Linked DNA regions of Homo sapiens: regions 2 and 3 are each linked to region 1. The links are contacts of gene promoters, found by promoter capture Hi-C in blood cells and fetal thymus (Javierre and others, 2016). All regions are on one chromosome and are shown on one strand. The core of a region is centred on a gene start or on the middle of the fragment in contact, and the rest is flanking DNA. Distances in the headings are between cores, read along the strand shown.

Evidence for each region. The method cuts DNA at HindIII sites, captures the fragments that hold promoters and counts their contacts. A CHiCAGO score of 5 or more calls a contact.
Region 2: a fragment that was not itself captured here is called in contact with the fragment with the promoter of CCDC141 in region 1 in 3 of 17 cell types (naive CD4 T cells, total CD4 T cells and total B cells); the score reaches 5.5 in naive CD4 T cells.
Region 3: a fragment that was not itself captured here is called in contact with the fragment with the promoter of CCDC141 in region 1 in 3 of 17 cell types (naive CD8 T cells, non-activated CD4 T cells and naive B cells); the score reaches 5.5 in naive CD8 T cells.

What each region holds. Positions count from the first base shown.
Region 1 is chr2:179,048,480-179,052,306 of GRCh38, forward strand. CCDC141 (coiled-coil domain containing 141) reads right to left here and starts at 1,658. Exons shown (of 24, transcript NM_173648.4): 1 at 1,361-1,658. The coding sequence starts at 1,462. RefSeq lists enhancers at 1,155-1,204, 1,395-1,644, 1,655-1,734. The HindIII fragment of the contact is 6,980 bases long and covers 771-3,827 here.
Region 2 is chr2:178,893,710-178,897,536 of GRCh38, forward strand. The region is part of intron 8 of CCDC141 (coiled-coil domain containing 141); the gene reads right to left. All of the region lies in intron 1 of LOC105373766 (a long non-coding RNA gene), which reads left to right. Among named protein-coding and RNA genes, the nearest start is that of TTN, 88 kb to the left of the region's middle. The HindIII fragment of the contact is 4,463 bases long and covers 1-3,827 here.
Region 3 is chr2:178,909,213-178,913,039 of GRCh38, forward strand. All of the region lies in intron 7 of CCDC141 (coiled-coil domain containing 141), which reads right to left. The region is part of intron 2 of LOC105373766 (a long non-coding RNA gene); the gene reads left to right. Among named protein-coding and RNA genes, the nearest start is that of TTN, 100 kb to the left of the region's middle. The HindIII fragment of the contact is 1,075 bases long and covers 1,632-2,706 here.

The DNA.
Region 1 (3,827 bases), core at 408-2,907:
TCTGATTCTTCTGTAATTTATCCTCTAATATTATTCCTCATCCTGCTCCAAGAATGTTCATATTTGAGGAAATGGAAAGTTAACTTTTTGAAAAATAGTGAGTTTGCCTCTTTTCCCTCATTGCTGAAATCTGCAGTTAACTCAAAGTATCATTAATCCCGTGCAAATGATCTGTTTGCCCTACTTCTGCATCAGGCTTCTTTTCATCTCCTCTCTGGGACTCTGAAAAGATGGGAGGGTGAGGAAGTCAGCAGAGGCCTGGTTCCTGTGGGAGAGAAGTCTCACAACACCAGAAAATCCACCTCGGCAGGAATACTTTCCATTCTGTCCTTCTATAGTGAACTGTTTTGCTCAGTATCAAGTGCTCTTTTCCTGGTATGAATTTTCACATTACCATAAAATTCACAGCAATTAAGTTAAAGTAAACATGGCTTGCTGTCCATGCTCTAACAAAAGGCCAGAAAAGTCATTCAATTAAACCTGGTGGGGACCTGAAAGTAACTGGTTTGTGACCATCAGCTTGTTTGCCAGCTTTCCCTTCATTAAACACTGAATTATTTAGGTGGAATATCATCTAAAGCCCAAGCCTAGTGCTTGAAAGCTTTTTTTTACAGGGCATTTCCATGGAGAATAAAATCATGGAGTTCTTCTTCAGCCTAAAGATGTGTGGTCATCTTTGCAAATGGGCAAATGGGTTGTCATAAAACATGCAGTAATTGTAAACCCTAAGTGGCTTCTACTTCCTGCTGTTAAGAGCAAATTTGACACAAAGCTTTTGTACCTTTCCTTGCATGGTCTTCGTTACTGGACAAGGATTTAGTAGTTTCTTTACCATGTCAAAACCAGTGTGGCAAAGGGCACATGTCGGAGCCCTTTACTTGGTGTTTTCTGAGTTCCATCGTGCTTAAAGCAGTGCCCTCCCCCTGTCTGTCGGGACCTGCCTCCTCCCACCTCCATCACATCCACTCTCAAAAATCACAAGCATTCCACAGGTCCATTGGACTCTTTAGTCAGGCAATCATGAACTTCCAGTTACCAATGCCTTGCTTTTAAAGACCAAATTGACAGTATATGCTAGAGGTTTTCTTTTCTTTATTTTTCTTTCTTTTCTTTTTTTTTTTTTTTTTAAATCAAGCTGCTATAGATGCTTTCTGGCTGACTGAAAGGAAAGAGAATCTCTGGTAACTGCTGAAACTTGTAGAGGTTTCTCTTAGTAGCCCATTTTAGAAAGCAGTAAGAGTGCTTGCTGCGTTGTCTTCTCTATGCTGTGTCCTGCCGATTGCATGGAATGTTCTTTAGGGTTTTCAACACACAGCTAGAAGCCCACAGCCGCACAGAAAAAAGGAAGTTGTTAGCTTACCTTTATGACAGCTATAACGATTTTGGAGTCCCCAGCCTGCACAGCAACTGAACTGACTGTCGTCGTAGAAAGCGCAACACTAGGACTTCCTTGGCTGGACATGGTACTTTAGAACCAGAGTTTATACTTTGGGCAGCCTCTGGACAGTTGTGTGTCTGCTGGTCATTTCAGAAGGCCAGGGTTACTTGGATTCATTCAGGGAAAGAGCTCAGCTCACACTGATTACTCTGCCAAAAGGAAAGAACAGGAGGTTAAAAATAGACAACCCCATTGAGTTTATCGTGAGAGAGAAAGGAGCGAACGAGAGAGAATTGCCACGCCCCTAGTATGGTGACACTAAGTGCCTGTTATTTTTGCTGTTATCTTAAATGTGGAGGACAGCTTCAAGCTCTTTCCTTATCAGCTGATGTTTGATAACAAATGGAAAAAAAAATTACATCCTGACAACCCAAATTAGTTTTGCCACCGAAACTATGCCATTGTAACCATGGACTTTGAAACAAGTAAGTCTTTGACCTGGTTATCAATCTTTTCAAGATTTTTGAAATCTCTCTGATGCAAAGAGAACTACCAAAGTGTACTTTAAAAAAGTTTTGGTATTTGTCTTGGGGTTAAGTCACAAATTGCTTAAAACACATTTTTAGATTAATCTGCTTTTCTAAAACTTACTGTTCTTTGCTAAATGAAGTTTAGATGGAATAGCCACATTTTCTCAGAGCCTCAGATTTCTTAGGAATTTTTAAAAAATATTTCAACCAGCATTTATAAATAGGTGCCTATCATTTCAGATTTTCTTTGTGACTATTCTGCTCCATTGGACAAGGTTTTCAAGTTCAGTTATTAATACCATGAGAAAGCAAAATACTTTGCTGTTACCTTTTAATTGCAGCAAGAAAATGTTTTCTGTGTGGTTAAAAGTTATTAAGACATATATTTTGCTGCAATTAAAAACAAAAACAAAAAGGAAAGTACTGTGCTTCAGGCTTTTTATTCCCTACCCCCACCTCCTGTTCAGGAAAATTATAGCCAGCTTCAAATCAGTGCCCCACATTGGTAGATTAATCCTATTGCTAGAAACTCAGCCTGTGTCACAAGTTGTCTGTGGTATTAAACAGCAGCTGTTGGATTCCCTGTCAAAGAACAGCTGAAAATAACACTAAAGTTTAGGTCAGAAGTCAGATGCAAACATATCAGAGTTACTAACTCCAAAGCTGCTGGAAGCATTGGAAATCTCTGGGACAAAGCCACAACAGAGAATATAGCAAAAAACAGTTTTAATGAATCCACTTGCTCTGTAAACCTTTTAGCCCAATTTAATAGTAGGTTCAGGTTCAGGGCCAATGTTTAGAAGACTGAGTCAGCTCCATTGCTTTGTTTTGCTAAGGTTCATGATCATATTCTTGATTCAAAGGGGAAAAGTACTTTTACACATACTTCAGTGTTCAATTATTTTTGTTTCCAAGAGCATGTCATGGCTGCTCTGCAGCTGTGTAGCCACCACCCATGTCCTCTGCGCTCAGCATCTGCCTGCTGCCCCAGTGAGATGGAAACCATACCTAGATCCTAGTCCCTATGCAACACGAACTTCACCTGACCCCATGAAGGGAACAATTGGAGCGAGCTCAGGAAAGCAGATGCCGAGCAAGCTATGATGTAGCAACTATTGCAAATGGTTTCATTTTATGGCAGGGCTGGAGAGCTTGCAAAGAGGTAACTGACCTGGAAGGTTGCAGGCAGGCTCCTTCTTTCACTTGCATCTGTGTGAAGAGACCACCAAACAGGCTTTGTGTGAGCAATAAAGCTGTTTATTTCACCTGGGTGCAGGTGGGCTGAGTCTGAGAAGAGAGTCAGCGAAAGGAGATAGGGGTGGGGCCGTTTTATGGGATTTGGGTAAGTAAAGGAAAAAGGGGGGTTGTTCTCTGGCAGGCAGGAGTGGGGGGGTCACAAGGTGCTCAGTAGGGGAGCTTTTGAGCCAGGATGAGCCAGGAGAAGGAATTTCACAAGATAATGCCATCAGTTAAGGCAGGAACAGGCTATTTTCATTTCTTTTGTGGTGGAATGTCATCAGTTAAGGCAGGAACTGGCCATCTGGATGTGTACACAGGTCACAGGGGATATGATGGCTTAGCTTGGGCTCAGAGGCCTGACATTCCTTTCTTATATTAATAAGAAAAATAAAACGAAATAGTGGTAAAGTGTTGGGACGGTGAAAATTTTGGGGGATGGTATGGAGAGATGATGGGGGATGTTTCTCAGGGCTGCTTCGAGCGGGATTAGGGGCGTCATGAGAACTTAGAGTGGGAGGGATTAAGCTGAAGGAAGACTTTGTGGTAAGGGGTGACATTATGGGACTGTTAGAAGAAACATTTGTCATTTAGAATTATTGGTGATGGCCTGGATACAGTTTTATATGAATTGAGAAACTAAATGGAATAAGAGAGGGAGAAAAACAGGTATTAAAGGTCTA
Region 2 (3,827 bases), core at 395-2,894, 150 kb before region 1:
AGTGAAATGCATATGTTTCTACAATAAATTTGATTCTTATTTAAGCTATATACTTTGAAAATTTCTCCCACCAAACATTTCTCTCTCTCTCACACACACACACACACACACACGCACACACACACACACACACACACACAATGTTTTATGTATAGATAACAAAGTAGAAACAGAAAGCAGTAAGTGTGGCTGAAGCTACAGGGCACCTGGGTTCTTGTTCAGATGCATGTAGAGATGGCTAGAAGTTCCATTTCTATGAGGCCATAGAGACCAACATATATGTCCTATGTGAAGGGTACCATTGCTAGGATTCTTCCTGAAATCAGTAGCAGAGCTGAAATTCTCTGCCCTCATTAGGGGAGGCTGAAAATGCTGCAGCCAACAGCTATGAGGGCCATGGAATTAAACATGGCAGAGCCATCAGGAACCACCTCAAGCCCTCTTCTGGTTTCCTGACTGCATCTTCAAGAGCCACAATATCTCCACAGACGCTTGTGTGACCCTGATCAAATAACAGAAGTACATTTTGATGCTGGACTGAAGGTCCTATGAGTCCAGGTGGTCACTGCAAAGCTGCTAAGGAGGAAAGAGCAAAGAGAGAAGCAAGCAAGCAAAAGAAAGTCAAAGAAAAAAACCCTCCCACTCCAAATGAGAGTGCAATCCAAAATCTCAAAACACATGAAGAAAAGCAAATCCAAGATATGTTCAACAACCAAGAGATAAATGTACTCTAGCTGTAAAGAAAATAAGTACAGCAATCTGACAATGACTTTAAAGTAAATGCCTGAGATCATCAGAGAGATTAAAAAAACCCAACACCCACAATAAAAGACCAAGAAACTTTGAAACAAAAAGTCAGAAATAAAACAAAATTAGACACACAAAAAAATTAGAAATCACAGAAATGAAAACAATATATTTTCTAAAATAAGAAATCAATGAATGAAAACAAAGGGAAAAAGGAAAAAAGAGAAAATACCCTGAGGACCCATGGAGAGTGCAACACAGAGAGTTAAAATAGTGAAAAAATACCAAAGACAGGTAAGAGACTGCAAAGAGACCAAGAGGCTCCAACATTCTTCTAATAGAAGGTATAGAAGAGAAAAAAAAGGTAATAGCAGAAAAGTAATATTTAAAAAGATACTTGCTGAAATTTTCTCATAATTTGCGACATAATACTGAGATTAAAAGGGCACAGCAAGAGCTAAACAGATAAATGCACACATTTGAGATTATTTGGAAAACATAAAAATATCTTTTAATGTATTTCCTTCCAAAAAGACTTTCTTTTTGGTAGTCCCCTGGCCCTCCTCACCTACTCTACCCCACATTAGTATTATGCCTTATAGAGAAATTGGGTCCCACTTGTACCTGCTTACCGTTATATTGTGAGGATACTCTGTCTTAAAATATTCTTCAAAAAACTATTTGATATGGACTTAGAATATTCCATTATGTGCTTTCCCTTAAACTATTCAAACATTTCCCTAGTTTCTGGAAATATTTAGCTGGTTTTCGGGTTTGCACTATTATAAATAGCACTGTGATGAGCATCTTATTCATAAATATGTCCCCTCACATCTCTTCCTGTCTCTTTTCTTTGTCCTCTTCTCCCTAAACCCTGTAATATGAGAGGAGTCCTCAATCACCCAGGGCAGGGATTTCTGCCTCTTTAGTCAGCCTTCCTCTGGAGGTTCTGTAGGTCCAGATCTTTTTACTCTGGGATCTTTGCTACTTCACATCATCAGCATTATAAATGAATACATTCATATTGCCGTGATAAAGATACTTTATGAGAACCTAGTGTAGTTAATCCTGGATTTAATGGGAAGTGTGAGCTTTTGGTACTTTCCACACTAAGAGTTTTAGAATGATAAAATCCTTAACGGTGTTAACAAGCCAGGATTGCAGTTATGACATTTACCCAGCCTCTAAAAAGAACAGCTTAATATAGACATGAAAATATTTGGAAAGTGGCTGGGTTGACTGTCATAAGAACTCAACTTTGTAATTTCCTAAATTTCACTATCTGACATTTACCATCTAAATGCATCATCAAAGTCTTTTAAAAGCAGTTATTTTTAAGTTCTTAAATGCTTAGTACAGTTCATATAAAATGCAGGCATAGACAAATCTACTAGGCAAAGGAAATGTGTTTGTCTTGTTGGAGAATGGAGATTGTTTTTGTTTGTTAAGATCTTTGTAAATATTTTCACTGTGTTAAGGGCTTTCCTTCAATGTCATGCCAGCCCCTTAACATAAGGTAAAAAAGAGGTTTCTTGGGTGGTTTCAGCCCTGAGTTGATATCATGGTCTGAATGAGGACATGATACTGTCACAAATGAAATAACTAAAGAATGATTCAGCCCAGCCCAGAATGAAAAGTGGAGCCATGAGATAGACGTGACAAACAAAAAGGAATTCAAGAAACTATTATGTGGCAGGTATTGATTCAGTTCATCTTGGCTCGAAGATGTAGACCCTTCACCCATCTCAGCCTACCAAATACAGCAACTGTTCATAGCCCTCTCAGATTTCACCCTTTCATTTGGCCTGTCTTGATCTCAGACTTTCGGATTGTGTCTCCCTTCTCTGAAGAAGTGACCGCAACATCCACTGTACTCATGGGCCCCTCGTGCCTGGAGCACACTTCCTTGATGTGCAGCTCCCTGACTGGACGCGGGACAGGTTCTGGGGATTTGGGGTCAGTTTTATATGGCTTTGATTGTCCCTGAGGCCTGGTGCTGGTATGCCATATAAGATGCTCATATGTACATTTGATAACTTCCTAAATGAACTGAAAGAAAGAAAAACTTTGCAGAGAAGTTGGGACTTGAGCTGAAGCTAGAAGCTAGAGTAAATTTTAAGTGCACTAAAATATATATTTTTAAAAAAGGATCTATGTTCATTTAGCCAACAGGCTTCTTGTTATTGATTAAAGCTGAATGAAAGGAGTAGAAAGACAAAAACTGGCAACCTAACAGAGTAGTTCAGATCAGCTTTCAAGTACTCACACCAACCCTTACTGCAGTGTGACAGGCAATAGGGCAAGTTATTAAACTTCTTTGTGCCCTAGTTTCCTCATCTGCAAAACAGGGACAATGATAATAGTAGTACCCATTTCACAGGGTGGTTTTGAGGATTAAATTAATTTATGTCTAGAGCACAGAAGTGTTTGCCATTATTGCCAATGAGTCTTTGAGCATAGTGTACCTCCCCCCTCACTTTGTAGTCTTGTCTGACACCCTTCTCCCCCTGCCACCCCCTCCTCCAGCCACACCACCCTTCTCTCTGTGGCACCCTTACTATTATTGCTCTGCCTGTTCCACTCATCTCCTAGCTGCTTGCAGGGTAGCCCCCTTTGTTCTTAGAGAGTCTTTCTCTGACTACAATGTCTAAAATGATCTCCTGCTCAGTCACTCTATCTCATTTCCCTTTTATATTTTTTCATAGTACTCATTGCTGAGTAAGAGCATCTTATGTATTTGATTTATCTGTTGGCTATTTCTTACCACCAGAATAGCATAAGCACCACAAACATGGACACTTCACCTGTCACATTCGATGCTTGGAAACAACTGATTTACAAAAGACACTCAATAAATATTTCTGAATAAACAAATGAAGAAAGTGATCATGTCCTGTTCCAAAAAGTTCAAAACCATGCACAATATCAACCAAAGGAAGTAGCAGTAGCCAACACAAATGAAAACTGTGGGAAAAGAAAGCAAAATCCAATTAACTCCTGTTTTATGTCTCTGTAAAATATGAAAATATGAAGATCTACATTAAGAAGGCAGTAAGTGTTGGATCAAAACAGATAATGCT
Region 3 (3,827 bases), core at 919-3,418, 140 kb before region 1:
AGAAGGAGGGAATGATATATCAAGGACAAAGATAGCCCATAATGAGAATCAAAATAGTCAAATTATCTTCCAGAGCTTTTTCTCAAATGTGTAAGGAAAATATTTACTATAAATTGTTCTGTGTATCACACTTAATAGAACTACAGCAGTAGAAAGGAGGTAAGTGATTTTACTCCTTCATTAGCTCAACAAATACATTTGTAGAATACCTATTGGTACGATGGGCTGGATACTGACCTCAATCCTAACCAACCCGTAATAGGAATAATCTGCAGACATAGAAATAAGAGTTAAATTTCTGGACTTTAACAGGAAGCTACTTTCAAGAAGACTGTACTGTCTGTGATTGTCTGAATTATACACAAAGCTCATCTCTCTTATTCCCATGCAGAATTTGCCAGTTCCATGTGCCAGTTCCAGAAATGATCTAAGTATCATTGCTCTCACTTAATCTACCCTCAAAATAGAACTGAGTGCTTTTCTATTTACCATACCCATAAAGAACCTGATATATCGGACCCAGCCTGGAAAGACTCCCTTTGTTGCACACACAGTACAGAACATATTATTTCTGGCAATAAGAACACTGTGACCCCCATGTAAACTCCTTTGGAAGCAGTGTTTTCCCTTTGGTCTTTTTTCCTTCATATATCTCTCTTCAAACCTTATACGTGCAAGTCAAATAAAGCTACTATGACTGGATTGGGAAAAAAGGATATAGGACAAGGATAATATTTTATCCCTCTGGTTCCTAGCTCTTCTTGAACATTTTATATGTACTATTCAGTTTTTAGGCAGATAAGAAGATGAATCAGCTCTTTTCGGTCTTGTTTTGGTAAAGACTAAGGAGTTGCTTGGTGTTTGTTCTTTACAAAACCAATAAAGACCTTTCCTTTTTCACTTGTTTAGTACAGGACCCAAGGCAGCCTGCACCAAATCAAATAGAGATAGTATCAGGACATGGCACATTTCATTCTTTTAAAAATATCTGCAAGACGAATTCAAACAAGAGCCGTGAGTCATCTAGCAGAATTCTATCATGCTGTTTCACAAAGGTGTTTAATAAGTAATGTTGTTTGCTTCTTGACTAATCAACTTGAAGAGAGTCAACATTAAACACGAACAACAACAGAAAGAAAACAGCAGAACCTAGAAAATTTCCTTCCACGAGTCTAGTGGCTGGAGAGAGTTTTGTTGGAATGCTTATAACTATCAAAAACACAAAACTCAGCTAAGTGCTGAGTTGAGTCTAATTAGTGCTTCTAATTAGAGCACCAGATTCCATTACCTGTAGAGATTCAGATTTCCCTTAGGTTCTGTTACAAAGACCAAAAGCTTCAGTTTCCTTTCCTACACATCACCTGAGAGAACTTCTGGTGGTTCCCACTCTGGGGAACTGATTCCTAATTCAGGTCCTCCCCACATCTGCCCAAGCTTTCAAATGCCCTGAAGGCCAGAATATAGGGGTGATGTGATTTTTAAGCTCCCAATATTTGCTGTCCTCTGCTGCAGCTCCAGCTTATTCCTTGCCTGTCAAAGGCAGTTGCTGCTGGACCTCAGAGCTCCCTCCTTGTTCCAGGGTGAATTCATGGTATTAATGAGAGGTATTAAATGCCATTAGCACCTATGGAAGCTTTTGTCTCATAATCTGGAAAGCTGAGAAAACACTGGAATAAAAGAGGTTTGGGATTGAAAGTGGTATGTATCTGAAGCATTTTATCAACAAGGAATGGAGGAAGTTTATGCATTGACCATCTCTTGTTCTGAGGAATACAACTAGACCCATTCAATAGCACTTTAGGCAGCTAGTCACTATTTATAATTTCTGTTTTCTTTTCTCTAAGTTGACCTAAATGACTTTAAGATGATCTTGGGAATATTAATGTAGAAAATGTCCATTTATAATGTGTAAAGCACTTATTTTTACACTTATTCAAAAAACATTGAAATTTATGGACTATGTACTCAGCTACGTGCTGGGAATGTGAAAATGAACAAAAGCATTACATCACATTAGAGATATAAAGACAAAATACTGCCTAGCAATTAGTGAGTGCTTAGCAGTTCTGTGCTGTAGCCACGTATTAACTTACTTAGACAGCACAATGTCCTTGTAAGGTACCAATAGTACTTCTATTTTACAGGTTAAAAAAGCCAATGCACAGGGAAGTTAAGTGACTGCCCAAGGTCATAGAGCTAATAAATGTCCAAGATCAGATTCATACTCAGGCATTCTGGCTCCAAAATCTACTGTTATTTTGGCAAAGTGTAATGCTAGCAAACATTTCTAATTTTCACTTAATACCCTACAATTCCATTTATTTTACACTCCAACTGTATCCCAAAAAGAGTGTGTACAATTTATCACCAACTATAAGAACTTTTATTATTGAATGAGACTCTCTGAAGTAGATGAGGAATATTAGACTGATTTTATAAAAGAGAAAACTCAAGCTCAAAATGTAAATTGATTTGTCACATGGCCAGTCATTTATTCATTCATCCGACAAAAGTTTTTTGAACCTATGTGACACACAAAGAAGATTAGGACACAATCTCTCTCTAAGGCATACAGAGAAATATTATGGAAATGATACAAAACAAGCAATTAGTGCTGCCTGGAGATGTCTCAGAGGAGGCACTATGTGTAGATGACAAGCCCTTTACACAGCAAGACCTGCCTTCTCAGATATGATGCAGAGATGAAGCTTAAAATTTGTGTTCCTTGTATATTAAAGTAATTAAATTATCTTCTTTCAAAATGGTCAAGTCCCAAGTACCTTGGATCAATATAATCTCCTATGAACAATTTCATGTAGTTGGCCTTGAAACTCTACAGTTTATAATATTTCACTGCTCTTAGTCATTCAAATAATTATTGAACACCCACTAACTAGAAGTCACTGTTCTAGGTGTTCTGGTGAACACAAAGTGAAAAGGACATGTTTCTTACCCTCAAGAAATTTTAATTTAGCAAAAGAAATCTACCCAGAAATAAATATCTATAATACTAAGCAGAATGTGCTTACTGCCAACAGAGAGATGCAACAATCTGATACTGCACATAGAAGAGAAACCAATTAATACACTCTTACGTTAGAAATCCATTGACAGCTTAAATGTGAAAGGTATTCATGAGTGAGGACAATAAAATTGAATGTCTTGATTATCAGACTATTAGATATGAACTGAGTTGTGAGCTCTCATGAGACACTTAAGATGTTAAAGATGTTTCTTTTTCTATAATTTTTCTATGATATATCTATTTTAATAATTGTATGCTAATAATGTAGCCATATTTATCAAATACTTGCTGTGGTTTAAACAGCCTGACCTCTGAGCTCTAAAATCAAAGGTTTCTAAACACTACACTCATCACTCTGTCATAGGGAGTACAGGAAGAGGGTAAATTAAGACATCATCTGTTTCTTGTGGTGAGGTTTGCATCATCATGACTTTTTCAATTCTTAAATATCTCTGCATATATAAAGACATGTTCAGCATAAAATAGAAACTCCTTAGCATGCTATTCAAAATGCTTCCTGATCTCCCCACCTGCTTCTACCACCTTTGTCTCTCATCACTTTAGGTGTACACCCTACATTCCTGGCGAATTGAATTATCTTAGGTTCCCCAAACATGGCATGACTTTGTACCATCCAGCCCTTCCTCGGCCCTTCTTGCCCCATCCTTTCAAACTTATCTCAGTGATCACCTCCTCTGGGGAGCCTTCCTTGACTCTTTTTCCCTGAGCCAGGTTAAGGGTCTCTGCTCTGTGTGTTCTAATGCTTTGGGCTTTCTCCATCATAGCTTTCCCACAACCCAGT